2 separate regions of the Homo sapiens genome follow, and region 2 is linked to region 1. The links are contacts of gene promoters, found by promoter capture Hi-C in blood cells and fetal thymus (Javierre and others, 2016). All regions are on one chromosome and are shown on one strand. Each heading gives the region's core, a stretch centred on a gene start or on the middle of the fragment in contact. The rest is flanking DNA. Distances are from core to core; before and after follow the strand shown.

Region 1 (4,022 bases), core at 1,197-3,696:
ATCTGCCACTTCCCTGTTCCCTCTCTGACCTCTCCCACCTCTCCCCTTGCTCACGCTGAGTCAGCCACAACAGCTTCGGTGCTTTTCCCCAATCGTGACAAGAACGTTTCTTCCCCAAGACCTTTGCACCTGCTCTCCCATCTGCCTGGAACGCTGTCCCCCTAAGAGTGCACACAGTTAACTTCCTCATCACATTCTTTAGCTCTCTGTTCAAATGTCACCTTCTCAGAGACCTTCTTGGACACGATTTTACTGTGTTTTTTCTTTTCTTTTTTTTGAGATGGAGTTTGGCTCTTTTCGCCCAGGCTGGAGTGCAATGGCACGATCTCGGCTTACTGCAAACTCTGCCTCCCGAGTTCAAGTGATTCTCCTGCCTCAGCCTCCCATGTAGTTGGGATTACAGATGCGTGTCACCACGCCTGGCTAATTTTATATTTTTAGTAGAGATGGGGTTTCACCATGTTGGCCAGGCTGGTCTTAAACTCCTGACCTCAGGTGATCCCCCTCAGCCTCCCAAAGTCCTGGGATTACAGGCTCGAGCCACCGTGCCTGGCCCTGGACACCATTTTACTAATAGCATGTTTTATCCTCCTTACCTTGCTTTATTTTTCTTCACAGTGCTTGTCACTACCTGACATACTCTGACTTACTAGAATGTAAGCTTCATGATGGCGGGGACTTTTCCCTGCCTTGTTTGCCACAGTGTGCCCAGAGCCTCAAACAGGCCTGGCACAGAGCAAATGCTGGGTCTACGTCTGCTGAGTGAATAAATCATTGTCTCCTTTGCAAAAGAAAATGTGCCAAGAAGGTGGGTGGGGGGGGTCCCCAGCTGTGTCAGTACACATTCATCTCTCAGGCAAATCTAGACATCCAGCCAGAGACTCAAAGCTCAGGGCCGGAATTATCTAGCTGGATGGTCCCTAAAAAAGACGTGCCACTTAGAAGCAGATCAGTACAGGGGTTAAGAGGATAAACTTGGGAAATAATCTGCCTGGGTTTGGATCTTGCTTCTGCCATGTATTGCATGATGGACAGAGTTTTGCTATGTCACCCAGGTTGGAGAGCAGTGGCACGACCTCAGCTCACTTGCAACCTCCGCTTCCTGGGTTCAAGCGATTCTCCCTGCCTCAACCTCCCGAGTAGCTGGGATTACAGGCGCATGCCACCATGCCCGGCTAATTTTTTTATTTTTAGTAGAGATGGGGTTTCACCATGTTGGCCAGGCTGGTCTCGAACTCCTGAACCCAGGTGATCCGCCCACCTCGGTCTCCTAAAGTGCTGGGACTACAGGCGGGAGCCACCGTGCCCAGCCAAATTTTTTGGATTTTAGAACCTATTACATATTACAACACCGGCGAGATCCAGGGGCAACTCTCCATAAGTATATGATTTGCACAACAAAATCTTTAAAAATTCTAAATAGTCACACATCAGTTCAGAGTGGGTATTGCCAGCAAACAAGTTCAAAGCCAGGTGAGGTTGGCCTGCCAAGTAAGTTGCAAAACAGAGAAAAAGACCTTTCAGTTTTCAGAACGTTTTGGATTTTAAAGTTATAGATAAGGGACTGCAGACCTGTAAATATTCTTTAACATTTCTTTTTTAGTGTCTGGCATCCCCAACCACCCTGAGAATGTGAATTAGCTGGGCAGGATTTTTGTTTTAGACACTGCTATAATAACCTGGGCTTGAACAGTGCCTATTAGACTAGCACCGTTCAAACCCAGGTTATAGTAGTGTAATATCGGTTGCACGGAGCCTTCCATATAGTAAACGCTCAATAAAATTGGATGTGCTGAAGTCACCTATGCAATGGCCAGGTCAGGACTTGAAACCCTAAGACTCCAACCCTCAGGCCAGTCTTTATCTTAATTTATTTGACTTATTCAACAAATGTTTAGGGAACAGCTGCTATGCGTCAACTACTGTATAGTGTTCCTCCTAGAAAGTTCAGGAAACAGCACAGCAAAAAGGCTAAAAGTCAGACCCCACCTCAGCGCAGGTGGGGCGATTGCCTAGGCGACGACAGAGCCTCCCTTCGGCCGCACCTCCATAGAAACCACGGGATGACTTAGACGCCAAGTTTCACAGCGGAGGAGCTGTCGAACTTCCCACAAGTTCCGCCCATCTCCGCCTTAGCCATGCCCAACACGGAGCCCAAGGTGGCTTGGGAAGCTCAAGAGGAGGCCAGTGAACCCCGCGACCCGGAGCCGCTCTCATTCCGAACCCCGACAGCAGGGGCCTCCGCCTCCCACAAACGGTCGTGCTGACGTCACGGACGCCCCGGCCGAGCTGCGGCTAGGGGGTCGGGGGACGTCCCCTCGTTCGCCTCGCTTCCCCTCACCTCTGTACTTGGGGACTGGGGTGGGATTCTGGGCTTCTGCAGCCTGACCCTCGGATCCTCCGCAGTTACCCGGACTCACCTTCTCAGTTGCCCAGCGAAAACTTCCGCTGGGCGGAGAGCGCTGCGCGCGCATCCTGAATCTGAGGCGCCCGCGCAGGCGCCGCTGACTTCCTGACGGCCCCTGGGCTTCGCCTGCCTGGGAACTCCGTTTCCCAGATGCCTCCGCGGCAGGCCCGCCCTCTGATTCCAGACGGAATGGGGATTATTCCCTCATTGCTCATCCCCCTCCCCTCCGTTCTAGCCGCTTTGGAACGCCTTCTGGTTCTACTGCGCATGTGTCAGTGTCAGACCAATCGGAATGCACCGTGAGGTACCTCTCCACCAATCAGAGGTCACATTACCTAAACTTCTGCCTCAACTCCGCCCCTTACTTCCGCTTGTTTTCTCAGAAACCCGTCACAACGCGTTTCCATGGCAACCTACCGCTTGCTCTTCGGAAAAGGTTAACACTCCCTGACTTCTAGTAAAGGCAAGAAGCTAATTAGATGATTCTTTAACAAGGTAAAAATCTGGACTACAAACTGATGCCGCCTGGTCCTGATTCTCTTTCTACTCTACTCCCACAGTGCTAAGGCTGAAGAAGCAGGAGGAGATGGGAAGGCGAAAGAAGTCGCCCGCACAGCCCTCTGGGAAATAGAGTCCTGGCGCTGCCGCGGAGGATCCTGGGTGCAGCCGCTCAGAGAAGCTTCTCGCGCACAGGAAGTCGCTGCGAGGAGGCGCGTGTGCGGGGAGTTGAATCTCCCGCTCCCTTGAGGCTGGGGTTGCGTCTGTTGACGCGGCCGACTACAATCCCGAGGTACGGAGACGCTGGGGCTGAGGGACTTGCGGGCTCGGTCCTTCCTGAGAGGTGACGGAATGCAAGTGGGGGCGACTTCGGCAAAGGGTGCGTCGCCTTGGGCGGCGGTTGTCAGGGTGAAGGTGTGAACCGTCTTTCACAGTCTGTTATGAAAACCGCTCAAGGTCTGGGCACGGTAGATCACGCCTGTAATCCCAGCACTTTGGGAAGCCTTGGCGGGGGGGATCACTTACAGCCAGGAGTTCCTCGAACCCCCAGTCTCTACTAAAAATACAAAAATTAGTTGAGCGTGGTGGCGGGGGCCTGTAATCCCAGCTACTCAGGAGGCTGAGGCAGGAGAATCGCTTGAACCCAGGAGCTGGAGGTTGCAGTGAGCCGAGATCGCGCCATTGCACTCCAGCCTGGGTGACAGAGCGAGACTACATCTTAAAAAAAAAAAAAAAAAAAGAAAGGAAGAAAACCACCTTGGGAGGCTGAGGTGGGCGGATCGCTTGAGCCCAGGATTTCGAGGCTAGCCTGGGCCAGATGGTGAAGCCCTGTCTCCACAAAAGAAGAAAAAAATAGAAAAATTAGCCGGGCGTGGTGGTGCGCCCCTGTATTCCTAGCTAATTGGGAGGCCGAGGTGGGAGGATTGCTTGAACCCAGGAGGCAGAGGTTGCAGTGAGCTGAGAAAGAAAAGAAAAGAAAAGAAAACTGCTAAAGGGGTTTCCAGGCCTCCCTGATGGCCCTGAGAGGAGTGGTTCTGTTTTATTTTGGTTTTGGTTGGGGAAGGAGGGGAATGAGTTACCTGAAGTTGGCAAATTTAGGCAGAATCTTGCTGGACGA
Region 2 (4,289 bases), core at 1,067-3,566, about 10 Mb before region 1:
TTCCTTTTCAAAACTCTAGAACATAACTAAGAGTTGTTCACTTTTTAATGTTCTACTCCCCCTACAGTCCACTTTCCACACAGCAACTAATAAGTGCTGTTTTTGAAACAGCAACTCAGATCTCAATTTTCTTGCCCAAGCCCTCCAACAGTTTTCCAAAGCCAAGACCTTCATTTAGGGGAGATGCCACAGCTAGGCTTATGAAAGTCTCAACCCAGGCCTAACAGAAAGGAAGTACTGGCATGTGCTTGGGGCGGAGTGGGCATGAGTGTAAACTTTCAATCCCAGATACTCAAAACATCTCAATCCGTTTCAGGTCCTGGAGCTTTTGGGGGAAAATGTACCAAAAGTACCCAGTCCTCAGAAAAAACACATGTTCACACAAACTTTTCCAGTAAGTTCTTTTTTTGGGGGGAGGGGGGTCCATAAACCCCCTGATTTAAAATCTGCTCTCCTTCCACAGCCTTCTCCATCTCAAAAATGGCAATTCCATCCTTCCAGTTACACACCCCCAAACCCTTGGTTATCCTTGACTCCGATCACACACCCACATACAATCTGTTGGTTCTGTCTTCAAAAGCATGTAAAACTGTCAGCATGTCCACTGCTCCCATCCTGGTCCACCACACCATCTCCTAGATTACAGCAACAAGCTTCCCACCAATGTGCCTGCTTCCACTTTTGCCACCCTGAGGTCTTTCACACATCGAAGCAAAAAGAATCCCTTTTAAAAATGTCAGACTGCACCACGCCCCTGCTCAAAAATCTCCCAAAGGGTTCTTTTCTCACTCAGGCTAAAATCCTTACTAAAGAGCTAACACCTGACAACTTTTACAACTTCACATTCTACCACACATGGAGGAAGGTTGGAAGAACGGGTATCCTCCATTTATGAGGGAATCACAGACCAGAATGCCTGCAGGCAAGCCAGGATCTCAGCATACCTGGCCTACAATCCCCCACCCCACTTCATCAAGAGATCCCCAAACACGGAAGAGAAAGGGAACTTGGGAGAAGGGCACAGATCCACAAATCTCCTGCCAGGTGACCCCCATCTCTCCACACAAACACACACACAAAAGAAAAAGAAAGCCTGTACTAGGAAAACAGACCCTTTGGGCCATGGTGGAAATTCTCCAAACTCAATGAAGCAAGTTCTCACACAGATGAGTGCGGGTTGGGCAGGCCAGATGGAGGAAGTGCTCAGGCACCACCGAGAAGGATTCTAATGTTGTTCTCTTTGAGAAAGATAAAGGTAACAATTAGAGCTAATACTATTATATGTCAAGCACTGTGCTATTTTTTTTAACGTCGCTTAATCCTAACTGGCGCCATTTTATTGATGAGAAAACAGAGGCTCAGAGAGGTAAAGCCACTTGCCCAAGTTCACACAGCAGGCTAAGAAGCTGAGCAAGAGCTGACACACTGAACTGAGGCCCTTCTGCTGTCAAAGCCAGGACCCCCTCATCATTCCACCATGAAGGGAGTGGTTTCAGCAGAATCTAGTGGAAAATCTTAAGAATAAAACTACTTACCTCCTGTGACAACCACCCGCCCCACCACCCCAGACTAATGCCGAGCTTGTTAAGTCTCGTCCCGGAGGTGGAAATCTTAATCCCCAAATCTCCACTCCATCCCCGGGGATCCGCCCCACTGTAAGTGCAGAAGGCGGGAAAGTGAGCCGAAGAGCGCCGCACACGGCCAACCGGGGAGTCCTCATCCACTCCGGCCCACTCGGAAAAGCTGGGATGCGGGATAAGGGGATGGTGGTGGTGGCAGCGACAGGGAAGGCAAATGGGGGCTTCCCACACACAGCTCCAGGACCCAAGGTCAGGAACTCTCCATCTCCGACCCAAGCCTGATTCCCAAAACACGCCCAGCGATCCAAGACTCCAGATGCCTGAATCCAAACTCTAGCCCAAGACCCTTGAGTGCCGCCTCCTGCCCAATATCCAAAATCCCTATTAGACGGCCTCAATGAGACGAACCCCACGTCAACACCCCCAATGCCAGGCCCACGGCCTTCTTCGACTCACGACCGTGACCTCTGAAGCCAGTCACAAACCCCTAGACCTGCTGGAATCAGAATCCCCCTTCCCACAGGAGACTGGAACCCGTGCTCAGAACCCCTGCCCCCAGGCCAAGGCCCCACCCCTCCGATTCTGGCCTGGCACCCGGATTCCCGCCCGGCCTCCGTCCCTGACCCCGGACCCTCACCCCAGCCTGACCTGGCTTCATGGCGAGCCCTGGTTTGTGCGGCTCCGGAGTCCGCGGCGTTCACAACTCCACGAGTCCGGGGCTTTCGCACGTGGAAAAGAGCGCAGGCGCGCGGCGACGTGCGCTGCGTGACGCCACCCCGTAGTCCCGCCCCCGGGCCCCTTCCCCGCCCGGAGCTCGGCGCACGCGCAGTGAGCCTGGATTCTCGAGCCTGTCGACACGCAACCCGCTGCCCTCGCTCTCTGCCTTCCCAGCCTTTGCCTGTGCAGCGGTCGCCCTAAACTCGCTTCCGGTTTCCTCTTCCCCAATGCGAGCACCCCAATAATCAGGGCTCATAGCCTTCGCACGGGCTGTGCCCTCTTTTGTATTCCTAGCTAAATCCCTCTGGCCCCTGTACACCCAAAAAGGCTTCCCCAATACATTTCCAGCCCCAAGAACAGTGACCGACTCTGGGCTTCCATTCAAACATCCGAAAAACATTTACAGTGCACCTCGTGTGTACCAGGTGCTGTTCTAGGAGCTGGGAATACAGCGGTGTACGAGACATAAAAATCTCCACTCTCCTGGAGTTCATCTTTTTAATGGAGGAAATAGACACCAAACATGTTGAATGTTTGAAAGCGATAAGTGCTTTGGAGAAAATAACAGCAGGGAAAGGGGATAGAGATTTTGGAGGGCAAATGATTTTTGTTTTTTTGGCACGGTGGTCAAGGAATGCATCAGGAGACTTTTGAGCTAAAGGGCTGAAGGAAGTGAGGAGTGAGGCATGCACCTATCTAGGGGAAGAGAGTTCCAGGCAGGGAAAAGATCTGCAGATGCAGAGGCCCTGAGGAAGGAAAGATATGGGAAGTTGGAGAGACAATGAGGAGGGTGGGTGGGGCAAAGTGAGCAAGGTGGAGAGTAAGAGGAGATAAGGGCGGGTAGCTAACAAGGGCAGATTGTGCGGAGCTTTGTGGGACATAGTGAGGACTTAGGCAGTAAGATGGAACCATGGAAGGGTTCCAAGCAGAGAAGGAATGTGATCTGACACAGGTCCCTCTGGCTGCATGTGGGAAGCAGACTGCAGGAGTGAGGGTGAAAGCAGGAAAACCAAGGACTGGCTGCTGCCGTGAATCAGAAGAAAAGGATGGACAGATCAGAGTGGGGGCAGAGAGCGGCGTCAGGGGTCAACAGATTCTGCTTAAGTATTAAGAATTTTGGGCTTTGTAATTGTGTAATATCAGTATCCATCCCTATATTCATTCTGCAAAGCAAGACAACTGCTGTTATGAGAAGTTACCGAAAAACTCCAGAAGAACCTACCAGTCCAGAGCCTAGATGTTGACTCTGTTCCATTCACTGCTCTATCACTCTAGGCCTAGGACAGCCCTCTGGGTGCCCAGTAAATGTTTGTTGAATGAATGGATGGCCTCATACCGTTGTGAGTTCTCTGTGTACAGTGTTCCAGCTGTGGAATGCCACCAATTTGCACAGAAACATTCCTGAAAGATTGTTTAGATATTATGATGGAAAATCTGCTTAAACTTTTCAGAACCGGTCGGGGCAGTGGCTCACACCTGTAATCCAGGCACTTTGGGAGGCCGAGGCAGGAGGATCGCTTGAGCCCAGGAGCTTAAGGCCAGCCTGGGCTACAGAGTGAGACCTTATCTTTACAAAAAATAAAAAATTAGCTGGGTATGGTTGCTTGCACCTGTAGTCCCAGCTACTCAAGAGGCTGAGGCAGGAGGATCCTTTGAGCCCAGTAGGTCTAGGCTGAAATGAGCCATGACTGCACCACTACACTCCAGCCTGGGTCACAGAGCGACACCCCTGTCCCAAAACAAAAACAAAAACCAAACAAAAAAAACTTTTTAAAAACTATGAGATGAAATAGTTGAGTCTATTCTGGATTTCTAGATGTGCAATGATTCCAGTGGGTCCAATTCCGGATAATGTTACCTATTTCACATGGATTTTACTATTTGCCTTCTAATTAATATTTTTCTTCTAAAGGACAAAAGTACTCAGAGTGCAGTGCAGATTTAGGGGATTCCAGCCCTATTTCTTGGAATCCTGGCACCATCTCCTGCTTC

What was found. The method cuts DNA at HindIII sites, captures the fragments that hold promoters and counts their contacts. A CHiCAGO score of 5 or more calls a contact.
Region 2: the fragment with the promoter of FBL here is called in contact with the fragment with the promoter of VRK3 in region 1 in 1 of 17 cell types (fetal thymus); the score reaches 5.0 in fetal thymus.

Annotation. Positions count from the first base shown.
Region 1 is chr19:50,022,926-50,026,947 of GRCh38, forward strand. VRK3 (VRK serine/threonine kinase 3) reads right to left here and starts at 2,447. Exons shown (of 15, transcript NM_016440.4): 1 at 2,342-2,447. It overlaps ZNF473 (zinc finger protein 473), which reads left to right and starts at 3,080. Exons shown (of 5, transcript NM_015428.4): 1 at 3,080-3,197. RefSeq lists enhancers at 1,753-2,254, 2,304-2,383, 2,724-2,773, 3,184-3,233. The HindIII fragment of the contact is 2,425 bases long and covers 660-3,084 here.
Region 2 is chr19:39,844,063-39,848,351 of GRCh38, forward strand. It overlaps FBL (fibrillarin), which reads right to left and starts at 2,317. Exons shown (of 9, transcript NM_001436.4): 1 at 2,229-2,317. The coding sequence starts at 2,238. RefSeq lists an enhancer at 1,122-1,862. The HindIII fragment of the contact is 4,240 bases long and covers 652-4,289 here.